2 separate regions of the Homo sapiens genome follow, and region 2 is linked to region 1. Evidence: promoter capture Hi-C in 16 types of primary human blood cells and fetal thymus (Javierre and others, 2016). All regions are on one chromosome and are shown on one strand. The core of a region is centred on a gene start or on the middle of the fragment in contact, and the rest is flanking DNA. Distances in the headings are between cores, read along the strand shown. Region 1 holds the start of LMBR1L (limb development membrane protein 1 like). Region 2 holds the start of DDN (dendrin).

Region 1 (4,213 bases), core at 520-3,019:
GTTCCACGCAGTTCCAAGAAGCTAGGCTGCTCTCTAGCCTCTAGATGAGAGCCAGGTGGGGGAGGCACCATAAGTCTTCAGGCTACCCTTAGCCAGCACTGATGTTCTCAGCTCATGGGACTAAAGGATTAGGGAGACATCCAGGAGGCTGCTTCTGTCCAAGGTCTCATCCCTCCCTGTTCTCTAGGAATTTGAGCCTCCAGCCCGACACTGTCTCAAGGCCTGGGTGTGCCTCTGCAATATGCCCAACCCACCATGTGGACTGTCCACCAAGAAACACACAAGGAAGGCTTGCCGAAAGCACACTTCTACTGGAGTTGCACACACAGACTAATATACTTTCCTGTCCTCACAGATAAGAGCAGACCTAATTATGTCCTGGCTCAATTTACCCCTCCTCCAATCAGGCTGCCCAGGGCTGGCTAGAGCCCAGCCTGAGAAAAATGAAGGGAATGACCCCAACAATGGATTCCCACACTTACTAACATTTCTTTCTGTTTTTCCAAACCATTCCCTTTCCATTTACTATCTGGAGATGAGGGTTGCCCTGGTGAGCTCTGGGGAAGGACACAGGAGAAAGGAGAGAGGTGAAAATTCAAAGCAAGGCTGAGAAAGATATGACACCCTAAGCTCCACTGGGTACCCCTACCCCAGAATTGAGTAGTCCACTTCTGTGCGCAAGGTTCAGTTGTCGCTCTAAGTGGCAGGGAGGGCGTAAGGAACAGCAGCCAGGTACCCTCTGAAGCCCTGGGAGGACCACTCACTGGGGAAACCCCGGAATGGCTGAGAGGCTGGGAACCCAGCCTTGCAGGGTTTCAAACAAACACCAATGAGAAAGAAAAAAGACGGGGGAATACTTGGTTGTTCCTCATCTCTACATATTAGGATCCACCCCAGCAAGACTCCTTTCTTCCAAAGCAGATGACCCACCAAGTCCCCAGGTTCCTCCCGTCTGCCATCCCTACACCTCCCCTCTTTTCTGGAATCAAGCTCAGTGTGACGACGTCTCCCCTTCATCCAACGTCAGCTGAGTTTGCCCTCAACCCAGTTTGAGAAGCAAACCCATCCTTCCCCGATTATCAGACTAAGGCAGACTCCGCAGGCTCTCAGACCCCGGAGACCCCCAACAGGAAGACGCGCTGGGTGAGGGGTGGGAGGGAGGGGCAGGGGAGGGGCGTGTGGGGGAGGAACGGAAACGACGGCCTTTGTTTATCGCTCAGGGACCCAGCTGATCCCATCTAGGGGATCGCTAGCCGGGCACCCGCCCTTCTGCCCGGACGGAGGCCTCCGTCGCCCGCCGCTGGCCCAGGCATGGTTTGACGGCACTCTGAGACCAGGTGGGCTCGGACCCCAACCTCCCCGTCTCCCGCAACCCCCGCTTCTCCTCGCCGGGGCCCCGCACTCACAATACACTCGCGGATCCTCTCGTGGAATAGCTGTTCTCGCACGGATAGCACTTCGTAGTCAGGTGCTTCCATACTCTGCTCAGCATGACTGAAGCCGAGGTGCCTCTGGGCCCGGGGAGGACGAGCGGGGAGGAAGCCGCCGCCGCCAAGCACCCAGACCCAGCCTAGGGGCCTTTCCTCGCAGCCTGCGACAGAAACTCGGGGCAGTCTGGGGCTCAGATACAGTCGTCCGGACGCCCCGCCCTTAAAGGGGCAGGCACCACCCGCCTCGTTTTAAAGGGCTCTGTCCTCCCTTTGCTCCCCACTCTTTAAGGTCGGGTCGCGCTCACGTTTCAATGCAAACACCCGCCACTAGGCTCGCTACGAGGAAGCGCCGCTGAGGGTCCATCTTTTTAAGAGATCTAGTGACGACACAAGGGATGGGCGGGTTCCTTCCAGGGGGAGGAACTCATTGGCTCCTGGAGAGCTGTCGTTCATCGCTGGAGGAGCGCTGATAGGCTCGCCCTGTGGAGGAAGGCGGGATCTTTTGGGCCTACCGCTGCCCATACTAATAGAGCAACTGTCTCTCTTATCTGGGAAAAGTGAAGGTTCCTGGATTTTAGTAGCAGCCAACATTTTAGTATGACCTTGGTTAAATGAACCGTTTGAAGCAGGCCAGCCAGGCAGGATGTGAGGGCACCCTAGGGGTTCTGAAATGTACCGCTGCCCAGTAACCGATGTTCTGTAGTAGCATTTTCTGTGTGTTTGTGTTGGGGTGCCCCTCCCCACATCCCCACCCCGCTTTCCCGCTGCCAGGAGTTTTCATTCAATCATTTTTGTGGAAGACCTAGTGTGTGCTAGAACAAATACTGAAAAATACTGGAGAGAGGACTACAGAAATACCTTGCAACTTTGTGAAGAAATGCCCACAAGGATCACTGAAGAGTGGGGCTGAGTCAAACATTAGCTAACCACTTACTATGTGCCATTCACTTTATAGTCGTTATCTCAGCCATGTTACCCAGGCTGATCTCGGACTCCTAGTCTCAAAGTGATGGGCCTCCCAAAGTACTGGGATTACAAGGCGTGACCCACCCAGCCTATTATCTCATTTTTAACGTCACAACAACACTTCAGAGGAAGATGTTGTGATTCAGCTTTTATTTCTTTATTTATTTTTGAGACGGAGTTTCGCTCTTATTGCCCAGGCTGCAGTGCAATGGTGTGATTTCGGCTCACTGCAACCTCCGCCTCCCGGGTTCAAGCGATTCTCCTTCCTCAGCCTCCCAAGTAACTGGGATTACAGGCATGCGCCACCGCGCCCAGCTAATTTTGTATTTTTAGTAAAGACGTGGTTTCTCCATGTTGGTCAGGCTCATCTTGAACTCCCAACCTTAGTTGATCCGCCCGCCTCGGCTTCCCAAAGTGCTGGGATTACAGGCGTGAGCCACCACGTCCGGCCAAGATTTTGTGTGTGTGTGTGTGTGTGTGTGTGTGTGTGTGTGTGTGTGTGTGTGTGTGTGTGTGTGTCTTGGAAGTAGACAGGATTTAGACGAAGGGAGATTTTCTTTTAAGTTATTTATTTTTGAGACAGTCTCACTCTGTCGCCCAGGCTGGTGTGCAGTGGTGCGATCACGACTCACTGTAGCCTCCAACTCCAAGGCTCAAGTGATCTTCCCATCTCAGTCTCTTGAGCAGCTGGGATCACAGGCAGGCACCAGCACACTTAGCTGATTCTGCCATGTTGCTCAGTCTGGTCTTGAACTCCTGGGCCCAAGCTGTCGGCCTGCCTTGACCTCCCAAAGTGCAGGGATTACAGGCGTGAGCCAACAGACCCGACCTCCTCTAAATTCTTAAAGCAACATCCAGCTGCATAGTTCAGTGAGCAGTTAAAAATTGGCCATTAGCCGCGCGCGGTGGCTCACGCCTGCAATCCCAGTACTTTGGGAGGCTGAAGCGGGCGGATCAAGAGGTCAGGAGATCGAGACCATCCTGCCTAACACGGTGAAACCCCATCTCTACTTAAAACATAAAAAATTAGCCGGGCGTGGTGGCAGGTGCCTGTAGTCCCAGCTACTCGGGAGGCTGAGGGAGGAGAATGGCGTGAACCCGGGAGGCGGAGCTTGCAGTGAGCCGAGATCGCGCCACTGCACTCCAGCCTGGGTGACAGAGCGAGACTCCATCTCAAAAAAAAAAAAAAAAGAAAAGAAAAAGAAATTGGCCATAAGACCGGGCGCGGTGACTCATGCCTGTAATCCTAGCACTTTGGGAGGCCGAGACGGGTGGATTACCTGAAGTCAGGTGCTGAGAGCAGCTCGGTCGGGGAGACCCTAACCCAGCGGCACTAGAGGAATTAAAGACACACAGAAATATAGAGATGTGAAGTGGGAAATCAGGGGTCTCACAGCCTTCAGAGCTGAGAGCCAGGAACAGAGATTTACCCAACAGCAAGCCAGTCATTAGCATTGTTTCTATAGATATTAGATTAACTGAAAGTATCCCTTATGGGAAACAAAGGGATGGGCAGAGATAAAGGGATGGGTTGGGCTAGTTATCTGCAGCAGGAGCATGTCCTTAAGGCACAGATCGCTCATGCTATTGTTTGTGGTTTAAGAACGCCTTTAAGCGGTTTTCCGCCCTGGGTGGGCCAGGTGTTCCTTGCCCTCATTCCAGTAAACCCACAACCTTCCAGCGGGGCATTATGGCCATCATGAATATGTCACAGTGCTGCAGAGATTTTGTTTATGGCCAGTTTTGGGGCCAGTTTATGGCCAGATTTTGGGGGGGGCTTGTTTCCAACAGTCAGGAGTTCAGGACCACCCTGGCCA
Region 2 (4,122 bases), core at 221-2,720, 110 kb before region 1:
AAGTCCATGGGCTGTCGAGAAGGGGCGCGGCGACTATAATGACAGGAAATAGTCTTCACTTCTATCACCAATAGCTTGGACTTCTGCACCCAGAGGCAGCTGCCAGACTCCTCATCCTGGAGCTCCCGGGGGCTGTCAGGCCCCTCGGAGAACAGTGGGCCATCCAGCATCCTGCCCCACCCCACCCCGGCCCCCCACCCTCCCACCCGCCCCAGGAGCCCCCTCCCAGCCCAGGGAGCCGGCGCCCACTGCAGAGCCGCGGGCCCGGGGACTGGGAACTATATATACCCGGGCACACGTGTGTGTGCCTGTCTCTGTGTGTGCGCGCGCATGTGACACCGCGCGGACTGCTCCGCGCTGCTACCTCCCCCATGTGCACGGCCGCCCCCTGGGGCCCGGGATTGGACGCCCCTTCCCACTGCTGTTGTCCCCCAAGCCTGATGGGATCGCACGAGTGGGCGGGGGAGGGACTTATGATTCTTGCCAAGCTGACAGTGCCCCCTCCCCCGCCCCTATTTCTTCAACCTTCCTGCCGTTTTAACCCTTTACTCTCCTGCTTGTCAGGTTGCCTGACCACCAGGGTTCTGCCCCTGGCTTCCTGCCTCAGATTTCAGTTTCCCCAACATAGAGTGATGAGATTGGAACTCAAGGTCTCTGCCTGCCACTCTGCTGGTTTCCATGGGGCTGGGGTGCAGGAGGGGCTGGCCCACGGCTGGGGGGCTATTTTTAGCGGCAGTGGCTGTTCGGGTGCAGAGATGAGATGAGTAACCAGCTCCCATGCGGTGGAGAGAGGAGGCGGTGGCTTTTACCAAGCTTTTGTGCGACTCTGAGGGAGAGCTGCCTTCCCTAAGCTCAAAAAGGGTGACCCCTACACCCGTATCTCCTTGTCAGCTCAGTGCTGCAGCCTAGGACTGCTGGTACAGCAGGACACAGGCGTCTGCCTTGGCCACCCAAGCTGCCCTACCAGTTCCATTCTACATGTTTGTCCTTGGGCAGCCAGGGAGCCCTCCCACAGCAGCAGGCTTTCACCTCCAATCCAGAAGCCAGGATTTGGGGGTTATATTGTTCTGTGCCCACACAGCCTGCCCAGCTTTATGGAGGACAGAGTAAGTGCTTATGCACTCTCACCCTTCCAGAGGGGGATGGAGGAGAAATGATGTGTTTGCTTGGCAAAACTAATCCCCTAGCAACTGAAATGATAAAAGTGGCCTTTATTTTTTTCAATGTAGAACTCCCCCTCACCACCACCACAATGCCTAGTTCACTCAGTCCCCACCTTAAGTGGTGCTCCAGATGCTCACCTTTTGGGCTGCCTCTGTCCTGGGGGGCTGTTGCTTATATCCACATGATCCCTCCTCCTAAGCTTATACCAGGTGTCCCCTGATTCACCATGGTAATGTTAGTGGCAGCACAGCCCACGCCAACCCTTCCATGCAGAGACTTAGCAACCATGCCTGGCAACCATGGCAGCAGCTTCAGTGGAGGGGAGCAGTGCAGAGAGAGGGGAGAGTGTGTGGGGCATGGTTCCTCGGGAAGAAGGGATAATTTGCCTCTCTGGAGAGGAATAGGTAAGAATAGAAGCTTGTGAGTCTCCCAAATTTCATCCCTTGTCTCTCCCTCAGCTTCATCCTCACACTGAGACGGATAGGTTGGGTTTTAGAGGGAAATGGGAGAAGCAAGAGTTCCCAATTAGTTTTCCACTAATGTACATGGAGCCCTTTGGGTCCAGACCCTTCCTTTTAAGGGGATGGGGAACAACCAGAAAGGTTGTGGGGCAGAGACTGACAGACTGAGAAACAACTCAACAAAACCAGGTCTCTGCTCCCTAACACAAACCTTTAGAGAGAACGCAAACATCCCGTCCCATCCACCCTACCCCCCTTGATTCCACACACCTGCCAGCTGCACTGATGACTTGACTCGAAGATGCTTCCTTCCACCCTAGGTCCCACTAGAGTCCTGAGGCTTTTTAAAGCCCTTGCCTCCTCCCTAGGCAAATCTTCCTTAATGAGGGAATGTGACATAAGGGGCCATCTGTCCTTTCCACCATGTGCTTACCCTCCTGACACATAAACATACTCTAATTCTAATAACTTGGAAGCCTTCCTCCCCCAAGGTTGAGAATGTGCTGTGAGAGCTGTAAAGGGGTGAAGGCAGAAGCAGGGGCTCCTCCACAGCCATGATGCAACACTGAAAGCTGAGCTCTGATGAGGGCCACCTTCTTTTTTTAAAATAAGCTTCCTCAGGTCGAATCTGATGAGGGCCTTGATGCTTTTCCCTGTGTTCCATCAGGAGAACCCAGTATGCCCTGGCTGGAGGGTTATCAGAGGGGTTAGGCACTGTGGGGCAGGGGCAAGGAATGACTCCGAAATTGCTCCTGGCTTGGATGGGAAACTGTATCATACCTGCAAGGCTGGGGTGAGCTGGCACCCAAATTTAGCTCATACTCCAGTCTAGCAGTTCTTCTGATGTTGGGTGCTGACTGCTGTTTGGGTCTACATGCTTTCAATACAGGGAATGGATCTGATGGAGTGACCACTGCCCTGCTGTTCTCCCACCATCCAGCTCATTCTCACCTTGGAAGAGGCAAGGGATTTGTAGGTTTAAAGATAGTGCTGGCCGGGTGCGGTGGCTCATGCCTGTAATCCCAGCACTTTGGGAGGCTGAGGCAGGTAGATCACAAGGTCAGGAGTTCGAGACCAGCCTGGCCAATATGGGTGAAACTCCGTCTTTACTAAAAAATACAAAAATTAGCTGGGCGTGGTGGCGCGCGCCTGTAGTCCCAGCTACTCAGGAGGCTGAGGCAGGAGAATCACTTGAACCCGGGAGACGGAGGTTGCAGTGAGCTGAGATTGCGCCATTGCACTCCAACCTGGGCAACAGAGTGAGATTCCATCTCAAAAAAAAAAAAAAAAAAAAAAAAAAAGATAGTGCCAACTCAGCAAAAGCCAAACAGTCCAACCTTCCCCAACTAAGAAAAGCTGATAATGGTGGCAGGATTCTCTGCCCAAAGGAGACCCTCAAGTCTGTCTACTCGTGTGTGTGTACGTGTGTGTGTGCGTACACACGTTATTATTATTGTTAATGACCAGTTGAAGAAGCCATATAAAGTAGGAAGGTAGTACCCATCAACTGTAAAAATCAAACACTGCAATATCGTGAAGAGATTCCTGTCATTTAATTAGATTTGCCACAAAAAGCAATAACCTTAGCTAACCACGCTGCTCTCCTCCTCCACCTAACCCCCATCTCCCTTCATATGCACAAACACAGGAACCCAAAGCCCCTCCTCCCCACAATCCTCCCCACTCACATTATGGGAAGAAATGTCACTAAATGGACTTGGCCTCCTCCATATAGCACGGAACAGGTGAATAAAAATATCTTTATGAAGAATTTTGTTGTGCTATTATCTTAGGGTTGAATCAGGGCCAAGATGGAGGCAGAGGCAAGTGAGGTCTGGGGATCTCTTAGAGATCAGAATTTGTCTGAGAGGCACAGAGCCTATAGTTCACCCAGAAAGGGGGATATATCTAAGAGGACAGGGGCTAGAACTGGCTAGGCTGAAAGTTTTTTCAAGTGTATGTGTGAGGGTAAGGGTAGCTATAAATCCATTCTCTTTCCTCCCCCATACCTTCCCTAGCTCCCAGATAGAAGGGCAGGGGACCCTGAACAGGGAACAGAGTCACAATTCCCTCAAGTTTCATCTGATTCCCACAGAGCTTCCAGCAGGCAGTGAGTTGGGCATATCCCCTGGTGCTGCATGACCCCTTCCCCCAGCTCAGGGCTTCTTCTCTCCACCTGTGAGCACCAGGGCCTGCAGGATGTCAGACAGTGATACAATTCCCTTGACCACATCATTTTCATCCACCACTACAAGTCGGTGAACCTGGCACAGAGCAACAAGGGAGAAAGGGAATGTTTAGTGCTGGCCTCAGGGGAAGCCCCTCTGCCCCTACTCTCCTTGCCAAACCCCACTCTCAAGGCTGCTCCCCTCAGCTCCTTTAGGGTTGCTGGCCTCCCTACCTCTGCTTCCACTAGCCTGTTGATGATGGTCTCCAGAGTCTCATGCAGGTAGCACTTGAGAACACCCTCAAAGTAATGTGATCGATGTTGCAAGGC

The links. Contacts are between HindIII fragments. The CHiCAGO score rates a contact against its expected background, and 5 or more counts as called.
Region 2: a contact is called between a fragment that was not itself captured here and the fragment with the promoter of LMBR1L in region 1, in 1 of 17 cell types (naive B cells). The highest score is 5.6, in naive B cells.

The regions. Positions count from the first base shown.
Region 1 is chr12:49,109,078-49,113,290 of GRCh38, forward strand. LMBR1L (limb development membrane protein 1 like) reads right to left here and starts at 1,770. Exons shown (of 17, transcript NM_018113.4): 1 at 1,407-1,770. The coding sequence starts at 1,478. RefSeq lists an enhancer at 939-1,478 and a silencer at 2,336-2,516. The HindIII fragment of the contact is 30,486 bases long and covers 1-4,213 here.
Region 2 is chr12:48,999,118-49,003,239 of GRCh38, forward strand. It overlaps DDN (dendrin), which reads right to left and starts at 258. Exons shown (of 2, transcript NM_015086.2): 1 at 1-258. The coding sequence starts at 170. The region is part of intron 1 of DDN-AS1 (DDN and PRKAG1 antisense RNA 1); the gene reads left to right. PRKAG1 (protein kinase AMP-activated non-catalytic subunit gamma 1) reads right to left here. Exons shown (of 12, transcript NM_002733.5): 11 at 4,027-4,122; 12 at 3,157-3,889. The coding sequence ends at 3,782. RefSeq lists a silencer at 189-483 and an enhancer at 629-923. The HindIII fragment of the contact is 218 bases long and covers 1,362-1,579 here.